Linked DNA regions of Homo sapiens: all the other regions are linked to region 2. Evidence: promoter capture Hi-C in human tissues and cell types (Jung and others, 2019). All regions are on one chromosome and are shown on one strand. The core of a region is centred on a gene start or on the middle of the fragment in contact, and the rest is flanking DNA. Distances in the headings are between cores, read along the strand shown. Region 1 has its middle 60 kb from the start of MAP2. Region 2 holds the start of MAP2 (microtubule associated protein 2). Region 3 has its middle 33 kb from the start of MAP2.

The links. The method cuts DNA at HindIII sites, captures the fragments that hold promoters and counts their contacts. A contact is called where the count stands out against the background at its distance.
Region 1: a fragment that was not itself captured here is called in contact with the fragment with the promoter of MAP2 in region 2 in 3 of the 25 tissues and cell types used here (H1 embryonic stem cells, aorta and hippocampus).
Region 3: a contact is called between a fragment that was not itself captured here and the fragment with the promoter of MAP2 in region 2, in 1 of the 25 tissues and cell types used here (hippocampus).

What each region holds. Positions count from the first base shown.
Region 1 is chr2:209,362,749-209,366,109 of GRCh38, forward strand. No RefSeq gene overlaps it. Among named protein-coding and RNA genes, the nearest start is that of MAP2, 60 kb to the right of the region's middle. The HindIII fragment of the contact is 5,849 bases long and covers 1-3,361 here.
Region 2 is chr2:209,422,184-209,425,497 of GRCh38, forward strand. It overlaps MAP2 (microtubule associated protein 2), which reads left to right and starts at 1,864. Exons shown (of 16, transcript NM_001375505.1): 1 at 1,864-2,093. RefSeq lists a silencer at 1,545-1,934. The HindIII fragment of the contact is 7,301 bases long and covers 1-3,314 here.
Region 3 is chr2:209,389,455-209,393,078 of GRCh38, forward strand. No RefSeq gene overlaps it. Among named protein-coding and RNA genes, the nearest start is that of MAP2, 33 kb to the right of the region's middle. The HindIII fragment of the contact is 3,846 bases long and covers 1-3,228 here.

The DNA.
Region 1 (3,361 bases), core at 273-2,772, 60 kb before region 2:
ATCTGTCTTTAGCAACACAAAACAGCTGCTCCTGTCACTAAATTAAAATCTTAAACACTTTGTTGCTAATTCTCATTAAAATTTTGACTGTGACAAATAATCTTATTTGGGACTTAGTGGCTCATTGCTAATGACTAGAGTTTAAAAAGCTAAAAATAATTACTTCATTTTTATTAAGAAACCTGGCAGGCACCACCTTAACCAAGGGATCAAGATTAACATCACCTGTCCTAAGATATACTGCTATATATCATGTATCTCTGATATATATATCACAAAACGCTTTATGATTGACAATTAGTGCATAGCTTTACTGCAGATATTTATCATCTTGGCTTGTTATCACTAAAAAGGACACATCACTTCCATTATATTTTTTCACAAAATTAATATCCTCATGCTAACCATTTAAAAAATCAGGTAAACCCAATTGAGGGACATTCTACTAAATACTTGACCACTATTCTTTAATGTGTCAAGGTAATAAAAGGTGAGAAAAGGCTAAGAAACTGTCATAGATCAGAGGAGACTAAAGAGACATGACAACTAAATGAAATGTGGTACCCAGGACTGAGTTCTGGATCAAAAAAGACATTAGTGGCGAAACTGGGGAACTTCAAATAAAGTCTATAATCAGTAGTAGTACATCCATATAAAATTCTTAGTTTTGATAAATGTACCATAGTTATGTAAGATGCTAACACTAGGGGAATTTGGGTAAGGAGTAAATTGGAATTATTGCAGTTTTTCTATAAGTCTAAAAAAAGTTAAAATAAAATCTAAAACATTTAATTTAGGTATGCTCACACAAATTTTTATAAACAAATAAATTTCTATAGCAACATTACTAACATGAATCAAACTCTAATGTCCATGAATCACTCTACTGCCTATTAACAGTAAAAAGAATAAATATACTGTTACAGTTATACAATGGAATACTATTCACTAATAAAAAATAGACTATAATATGGATGAATATCATAAATATTATGCTGAGAAAATGAGACAAACACCAAAAAGTAATTATTGACCAATTCTATTAATAAGAAATTATAGAATAAGCAGAACTAATCTATAATGATAGATACCATATAAGTGGTTGCCTGGGGCTTATGGTACTGGGAGGGGGTGCGGTTATTGACCAGAAAGAAATTGACTATGGAGTAACTATTTGGATGTGATGAATATATTACATACCTTGACGGTAGATGGACTCCATGGGCAACTACATTTATCAGAACTTTCTGAACTGTACACTTAAAATGAGCTCTTTTTTATTGTATTTAGATGATGTCTTAATAAAGTTGATTTAAAATTCAAAAAATATGATCATCAAGAGAGTTAGTTAAACATGCTTTGTTAATTCCTCATAATGGCATAGCACGGTCACGATTTCTGGTGTACAAATGCACTTGGGTGCTCTTTTTTTTCTTTCTTTCAAATTTGGCATGGACCCAGAACTATTTTCTGAAGAAAAATCCTCTGCTACCTCAGTACTGAGAGGAAGTGGCCATCTGTCCAGATAACTGTCCTGATTGGCATCTCCAATTTCACTCAAAGTTTTGATCTGTCTCCTCAACCTGCATATTATCAACGCCTGTTCTGTCCTTAGTTAGCAACACAAAACAGCTGCTCTTGTCGCCAAATTTAAATCTGAAACATTTTGTTGCTAATTCTCATTAAAATTTTTACTGTGACAAATAATCTTATTTGGGACATTGCCAGAATAATAAGTGGTTATTCTGTTTATCTAGAAGTATAAATTCTTTGGTCTTCCTAAATTTGCTTTTAATAAATTATATAATACTTCGACATAAGACCATCAGCTTGGGTTGAGAAAGCTACTAGGGAGAATACATAAAACTCAATACTTAACTACTCAACATTTAACTACTCATTCAGCTTTTTAAAACACTTCATTTATGATGTGAAGTTTGAGGTTCCTGTCAGAAACCCAAGTGGATATGTAAAGCCAGGAATGAAGTATGTTAAGTTCCAAGAAGTATATTGTTTTAAATGGGGAAGAGGCTGCGCACAGTGGTTCACACCTATAATCCCAGCACTTTGGGAGGACAGGGTGAAAGGATCACTTGAAGCCAGGAGCTCAAGAGCAGTCTGGGCAACATAGAGAGACCCTGTCTCTACAAAAAAAATTTAATAATTAGCTGGATGTGGTGGCACAAGATTTGCAGCGATAAACAAAGGTCATCTTACGAAAACCAAAACAATGAGCTTGGACGATTTTCTGTATGCAACAGTAGTCCCAGCTACTAGGGAGGCTGAAGCAGGAGGATGACTTGAGCCCAGGAGTTCAAGGCTGCAGTGAGCTATGATCACCACTGCACTCCAGCCTGCACAACAGAATGAGACCATGTCTTATTAAAAAAAAAATAATAATCAGGGATAATAGGCCACATGCTGTATTTAACAAGTAAGGAGGCACTGGTACTGACCAATCAGGAGAAACAGCCCCAGAGTATTGCAGCAGGTATTGAAGATTCCCCCACCCCTGCTGCACCAGTTTTCATCACTGGCTCCTGGAGGGAGAGGATAAAGATTAGCAGAGACTTCTGAGAGAGGGTCCACAGCAGAAATGGGTAAAGAGAAAGCATTCAAAGCGGTGGCTATTTACCAATCAGTAAGAAGGTATGATATTTCAACATTTTAACAACCAGGATGCCTGTACTAATGCATACTAGCTGAATATCAATCCTGAATGCAATTGATCATTATATCAGGAAATAGCTTATTATGAAGATTGTTGGGGAAAATTTCTTTCAGAACAATGGAAATTTATATAGTTCTTAAGCATCTGGCTTTTTTTCTAATTGCACTTGCTATTTTATTTTTTATTTTTGTGGGTACATAGTGGGTATATATATTTATGGGGTGCATGGCATATTTTGATACAGGCATATCCCTTGGATATACTGAATCTCAAAAATGTCTTCTATGAGAAGCTTAAAACAATATTTTCATCCAACTTCAGCTATTATATTACACAGTTTAAAAGAAGATACCTTGTATTCCTGATTTGGTTGTATTTTATTTTTATTCTAATTTATTTATGTATGTATTTATTTATTGAGATGGAGTTACGCTCTTGTTGCCCAGGCTGGAGTGCAGTGGCACGACCTTGGCTCACTGCAGCCTCTGCCTCCTGGGTTCAAGTGATTTTCCTGCCTCAGTCTCCCAAGTACCTGGGATTACAGGCATGCGCCACCACGCCCGGCTAATTTTGTATTTTTAGTAGAGACGAGGTTTCTCCATGTTGGTCAGGCTGGTCTTGAACTCCCGACCTCCTGCCTCTGCCTCCCAAAGTGCTGGGATTACAGGCGTGAGCCGCGGCGCCCGTCCT
Region 2 (3,314 bases), core at 614-3,113:
ACTTTAAACTATCAGAGAAATAATGTCTTTTTTATTGCTGTTTTTTAGAGACAGGGTCTCACTCTGTCACCCAGGCTGGAGTGCAGTGGTGTAATCATAACTCACTGCACCCTCAAACTTCTGGCTTCAAGCGATACTCCCTCCTGAGCTGCTGGGATTACAGGTGTGAGCCACCGCTCCTGGCCCTGGAAAATTACTCTCATTGAGCACCTGCGCCTGCATGCCTGGTCATGAATGTCAGCTGCTAACACTCTGGTAGCATGCCTACTCCTTCCTCCCATCCACATACTGTCTATGATTTCCTAGTCTCCTAAGACCTCCTTCTCAGTAAGGCCATCTTCCGAGGAGGAGCATCAACTCCTCCAACCTCCCAGCTCCTGGGTGTGCCTTGATACTTCCAAACTCACTGCAAGCGTCACTGGCACATGGTATGAAGCAGAGCGGGGGAGGCAGGACACAGAGCACTGGGTGTGACTGGGGAGGGCAGGCTTTCACAGCTTCCTCTGTGATGGTTTCTAATCCTTGCAGGCTCCCACCATTGGGTCTCTTTCCATCTGAAAATGGAGGAAATTAGACCAGCTGCCTAAAACATCAACTCTAATGTTCTAGGTTCTAAGATTCTGTGGTTAATTTAAGTGACAGAACCACATTATGGCTGCTGTTTCATCAGCACTGTGAAGACTGTACAAGCCACACCTCAGTATGTTGGCTGACCTTAAAAACACCTTGTCAGTACTTGATATAGACACTCGAAGTAATTCTAAGTTGCATCTTACTTTTCTTACTTACAATAAAATGCTGCTCTCTGATTATGAAGATTCATACTCCTTAGTACGAATGGTAAAGAATCATTTGTTTTCTCAGGTGGTCATTTCACTTTCAAAAGCATTTAAGAGGCAATTTTTTTAAGGGTGATATTTCAAGGTCAACACTTTCCGTGCTTTCTAATTCATTGTATTTGTATCATTCTTCAAAGATCCTTCATATTCATTATCTTTTTAAGCATAAGAGAATTGGGCTGTCATTTTTAGTTCTCATATGACACATGAATACACTGAGAGTTAGATTAAGTGAACTGTCTCTAGAGCATACGTCTGGCTATCTAGAATGTAATAACTATAAAGGGAGGGGATCTTTCTTATTAGGGTTGTGGGAAAGGTCTGTCACTGATGTTTCTAATGCTTAGAAGAGTGCCTGACACATAGTAGGTGTCAATAAACATTCGTTGACTCAATAAATGAATGAATCTAATTCGTGACAGAGCTGGGTCTAGAATTCTCTACTCCCTCAGCCATTGCTCCTTTAGTGCTGACAAGAGTTGTTCTATGTTCTCAAGCGCCCCACATTCCTTTGTCTTTTCTGGATGCACCTGTGGTTGGGTTTGTGAGGCGAGGCCAGTGAGCTTTCCTGGTGAGGTGCCACTGGCAACCCCGCCTCATAGCGACACAGGGGAGGGAAGCAGGGGGTCTGCGGAGGTTGCTCCCGAGAGACTAAAGCTGTTGCCCCCGATTTTCCAAGGACGCCAGTGAGGAAGGCCCGCCTGTCCCGCCGCCCGGGCACTGGCCTCACTTTGTCGCGGGAGGGGACCAGGGCTCTGGAGAAGGCCCGGGCCAGCGGCTGGGCGGGGCTCTCCGAGGCTCCCACCTCGCGGTCCCCGCCTGGCGGCCGGCGGCTGCGGCAGAAGGCGAAGCGGTCGTGCTCCCCCTCCCGGACACTGCGGCGGTGGCAGCGCCAGCCCCGCCGCGGCCGCCCACGGGCTCGCGGAGTCTGGCGGGACCTGCGCGGGGCGGGACCTGCGCGGGGCGGGGAGGAGGGGCCGAGGCGGAGCTGCTGCGCTGGGAGCCGGCTGGGGGCGCCGCTCTCAGTCTGGGGCGGGCGCTCGGGCTGCGCGGGCTCTGGGCAGCAGCAGCAGCAGCAGCAGCATCCTCTCTTCCTTTACTTCCCTTCCGCTTCTTTCTCTTCCTTCTCCTTCTTTTTCCCCCCCCTCCCCTTCTTCCCCTAACCCTTCTACCCCTCTCCTTTTTCTCCGGAGGGCGCTAAGTCCGTGAGCGGTGGCAGTCGCGACCGCGGGTGCATCCAGTTTCTGCGCCCAGGTAAGAGACCGTCCCCACCTCTGGCTCTATGTAGGGCGCCTCTCCTTTTGCCTCGGTCTCTGAGTAGAAAGAGATAGGAATGGGGAGGGGTTGTGTCTCGTCCTCTGGGACTCGCAGCAGGCAGTCTGGTAGTTGGTCGAGTGGCCAGCCGTGCACCTGGCGGAAGATTCGGGCCTGTCCTCTCCAGGTGTCACTGCGGAGCAGGGGGCCGGACGCTACTGGTACCTGAGCCCTGGCTTCGTAGAAGAGCGAGTGAGCTTGTTAGGTACCACTTTGAAACAACTGAAAACTTACGCCAGGTTAGAATACGTGTATCGAAAGCCAGTATTACCTGCGCTGTGGAAAGAAGGGGAGTGGATTCTACAAAGATAGTGGAAAATAGGAAATCGAGGTAGGGGATTTTTTTGTTCATCCAGCTGCAGAGAACTGCACACTGGGAAGTGAGTGAGTGAGGGAAGCCTTGTCCATTTCAAATCATGTTTCTCTGTAATTCCTTCAGAAACAGCTGGGAGAGGAGGACTGATATTTATAATTGTAGGAAAATGAAAAATAAATGCCTGGTGGTGTTGGAGGGCGGGGCACGAAGAAATGAGTCTGGTTAGGCTTCCACACAGTCGTTTTTCTTTTTAAACGTTGGGGGTGGACCTCTGAATCTACAGTGCATCTATTCTTTTCTTCCTTTTCTTTTTAAAAGGCTTTTTTGGTGGGGAGAGGAGGACTGCAGTGCTGGCTGCCTGCCTTCCCCCACCTCGTCTTTTGTTTAAGGATGGAAATTTCAAGAAAGAGTGTGTGGGGGGCTAGGAGTGGGGAGCTGTATATTTGGGTGTGTATAGGGGGAGGGGTATGGATGGAGTCAGAAAAAAAATCCTTGAAAACTGGAAATTAATGTTATTCTGCCTGGCATCCGGACTTCAGGATTTTTGTCAGAAAATAAAAAGCTTTCATTAGCAACAAGCCCGTTTGTGACAATTGCTGTGTGCCATCTGTCGTAAGCTCTTAGCACAATGCTTCCAGGACATAGACGCTTTAAAATTGAGTCCGGTGTAAAGGGTTTTTGTTTAAATGCCTAAACACACAAGTATGCACACAAATGTATAATACACTATATACATGTTACAAAAGGAAATAGGTACTTAAGAGACTGATTTTTTAAAATTGTATTTGAGGGTTTGGAAATTATGTTGTGAATAAAATCTGTAGTGCAAAACAAAAAAATATTGT
Region 3 (3,624 bases), core at 56-2,555, 33 kb before region 2:
TCTTCATTTTTCTTTCTTGAAGCTAATAGAGTATTCAGAGTACAAAGCAGGAGGAAATCAGGGCTGAAGGATGCAGGCATTCTGCCTATAGTGCCTCTATTTACTTACGTGAGCTGTCTGGAAATATTAAACACAAAGATTCAGAAGGCTTAGGTTTTAATCACTCCTGCTTACTGCTTACAGTAATACTTGAGTCTTGGGTTCTTCCTTTTTAGAATAACAGAATTGAACAGGATTATCTCAAAGGATCTTCAAGTTACCAACTGAAAAATATGATGCCATGTTCTATCTGACAATAAGACTTTTTATATAAACTGATATCCCTTAGAGGATACCAAGAGCAAAGCTGAAGTTCTAAGAATCTAGTTAGCACTGCACCAGGTTGCTGTGCATTGTATAACATTTTCATTTTGAAACAACCTAAGGATATATTTTTATCCTGCATGGACCACTTTGTTGGGATTTAGAAGGATTAGCTTTCTAATTCTACATTAAAAACAAACAAACAAAAAACTGTAATTCTTGGGCTGGGCGTGGTGGCTCATGCCTGTAATCCCAGCAATTTGGGAGGCCGAGGTAGGTGGATCACCTGAGGTCAGGAGTTGGAGACCATCCTGGCCAACATAGTGAAACCCTGTCTCTACTAAAAATACAAAATATTAGCTGGGTGTGGTGGCGGGTGCCTGTAGTCCCTTGGGAGGTTGAGGAGAATCATTTGACCCCTGGAGGCGGAAGTTGCAGTGAGCTGAGATTGCGCCATTGCACTCCAGCCTGAACTACAAGAGCGAAACTCCGCGAGGCGAGTGGATCACAAGGTCAGGAGATCGAGACCATCCTGACTAACACGGTGAAACCCTGTCTCTACTAAAAATACAAAAAATTAGCCAGGCTTGGTGGCGGGCGCCTGTAGTCCCAGCTACTCAGGAGGCTGAGGCAGGAGAATGGCGTGAACCCGGGAGAAGGAGCTTGCAGTGAGCCGAGATCGCACCAGTCCACTCCAGCCTGGGCAACAGAGCAAGACTCCATCTCAAAAACAAAACAAAACAAAAAACAAGTAACTCTTTTTAGTGCTGATCACTGTATATTCATCATTTCCTTTGGCAAATGTAAGAAAGTTAGAAAGCACCAGCACATCTAATTTTGCATAGCAGGAAATGACATTAAATCTGAACTCTGCTCATTTGTTCTCCATAACATCCCTGACTTCTGCCTTGGGCCTCCCTATGATAGAGTAATGTTATCCAGTAGATAAAAGGGTGTGTTCCTGGGATCTGACAACCTGGTTTCCATTCCTGAATCTGTCCCTTCTGGACTCTTAGAACTTGGGCAGCTTCCATATTCTCTCTGACCTCAGTTTCCACATATATGACATAGAAATAAAAATAGTACTTCCATCATAGAGTTGTAAAAAATAAATAAACTAATATTTATGAAGCATTCAGTAGTGCCTGACTACAATAAGCACTCAATAAATATTAACTATTACCACTTAATCATTTCACTATACCACTATTTCACTATACCCTATTCCTTAGGGTACCATTTAGTGCTCTAAAGTGCTTATTTACTTGATAATAGTCGAGTTGCCCAAATGTGTTTTGCCTCCAAAGTAAGCAGTTCATTGTTTACCTAATTGCCTAATGGACTCTAACATATTTTAATTTGTTTGGTTAATAATAAAACCATATAAGAAGGCATTATTCTTATCATTTAAAAAGTTATTAGAAAAAATTAATGTATATATTGAATGTGGAAAGCTTATTAAATTCACTTCTTTGAAAATATGCTCAACTTATTAACATTTATGTTAGTTATTATTTTAAAAAGCAGTAAAAACAAAACTTTCCTATGCTTTTTCAAACAAACTTTTTTTAGTCTATACAGAGTCAAACAGCTTTTTGATATATCTCAGTAAAATTCAGACATCTAGATCGTTCTATGTTAGTTTTCAAGTACATTCAATTTTACAAGACATTCTCGTCTTTTTTCTTCGTTCTCTCCCTCATTCTTTGTGGTTTTACCCTTTTTAAATTCTTCAATAAACAAAACTAACTAAAATTGTTCAAAGGTGACTTCAGCTATCTAGACCTTTGGTAACTAAAAGTTTTAGGAACCCAAAGGAGAATTTTCTTCCATTAAGCCACTTACCACAAGAATATTTGTATATTTATGTATTTAAATTTATCTGTTTGATTTTGAACCTATTTTATAAATAGATGAAAAGTGCTATTTTATTTAACAATAAATTTGCTATGTAAAGTTTAAAAAACTTTTTGCAAAGTGAATTGTTAGTGTCATCAATTTTTTTTCTACAATACATAATGAATTTCTTTTAAGCAAATTCCATTCGGACTTTTCCATCTCCAATAGGGGCACAATCAGGCCAACTGCAGCAGGAATGCAGCAAGATATTTGGAAGCCTTTCTACATCGTTGTGACTGGCAAACTGTAGGATGCTTTACTAAGGCAGAAAATTCTTTCTCTGAAGTTTTTAGGAACAGGATGAGTAACTTCTCTGGGAACACTGCCATCCTGAAATCTGAAGGACAGACTGGAATTTCCAGATTATTTAATACAGTTCCATGTCACATGCTTATCAAACTTTGCCTTCATTGATGGCCTGCCTCTTACAAAAGAGTGAAATAATCAAAATGTGCTTTGCTTGCCTTTTTCTACAATGTAGTGTTACTCATAATATTACCTGAATCCTTACAGAACAACTGGTGCTCTCATCTTCCAAAACTTATGAGCTGTCTGTCCACTGTGGGAAAAATTAAGTGAACTAGCATCACTATATGTAGCATTCTCTAGTACACAAATACTTATGGAATGACATTTAGTTCTCACAGCACAACTCTTTGAGAAAGATATTCTTCTCCCAACTTCGCAATAGGAGGGTCAGAGGTGACAAGCTTGTTCAAAGCAGAATAGCTGATTCCAAATTCAATGCTCTTTCCTACAAGCTACATTTTTCTCTATTGTCTGATAACCCCTAAAAATTAACCACAAATATGTCTAATTGGAATTTTTCAGGGACTGTGGCAAAACAGGTGGGGAAATTGTTTTAGAGCTGGGAAAGAGGAGAGACTTTTCCCAGCTCTCTTCAAATTTTGATAAGTAGTCAGTTTCACAGTCTGACCATGCCTGAGTCCCAAATTTCAGGGGTTTTTTTTTGTTTTTTGTTTTTAATAATGGCATTTGTCCTTTGGTGATTCAGTTGCATGGCAATCTGAATCTTGTAGAAAAACAGCACATTCTTACCTCAGTGTGTTTCTCCTATAGTCATTTTATGCATGACCAAAATAGATCATCTCTTAAGTCTTATTACTCATTTAATCCAAAAATATTAGGAAATATCGGGAAATCAAGAGTGACACTATCCTACTTAGACCTAATGGTTACTTTGAAATTTTTCTTTGGTATCATTGTCAGCACTTGCAAAGAAACATAAACACTTTAAATTAATGTTATAAAAATTAGTGCCTAGAGAAAACTTTCATGAAATGTTTAGTCATGCTTGTATGTTTACCTGATGATTCAAAAGCTTGATTATTCTGGAATGAAACTTCATCACTATCTATCAATATACACTTGGGCAAATTCACAGATGTAACAAATTAGCAT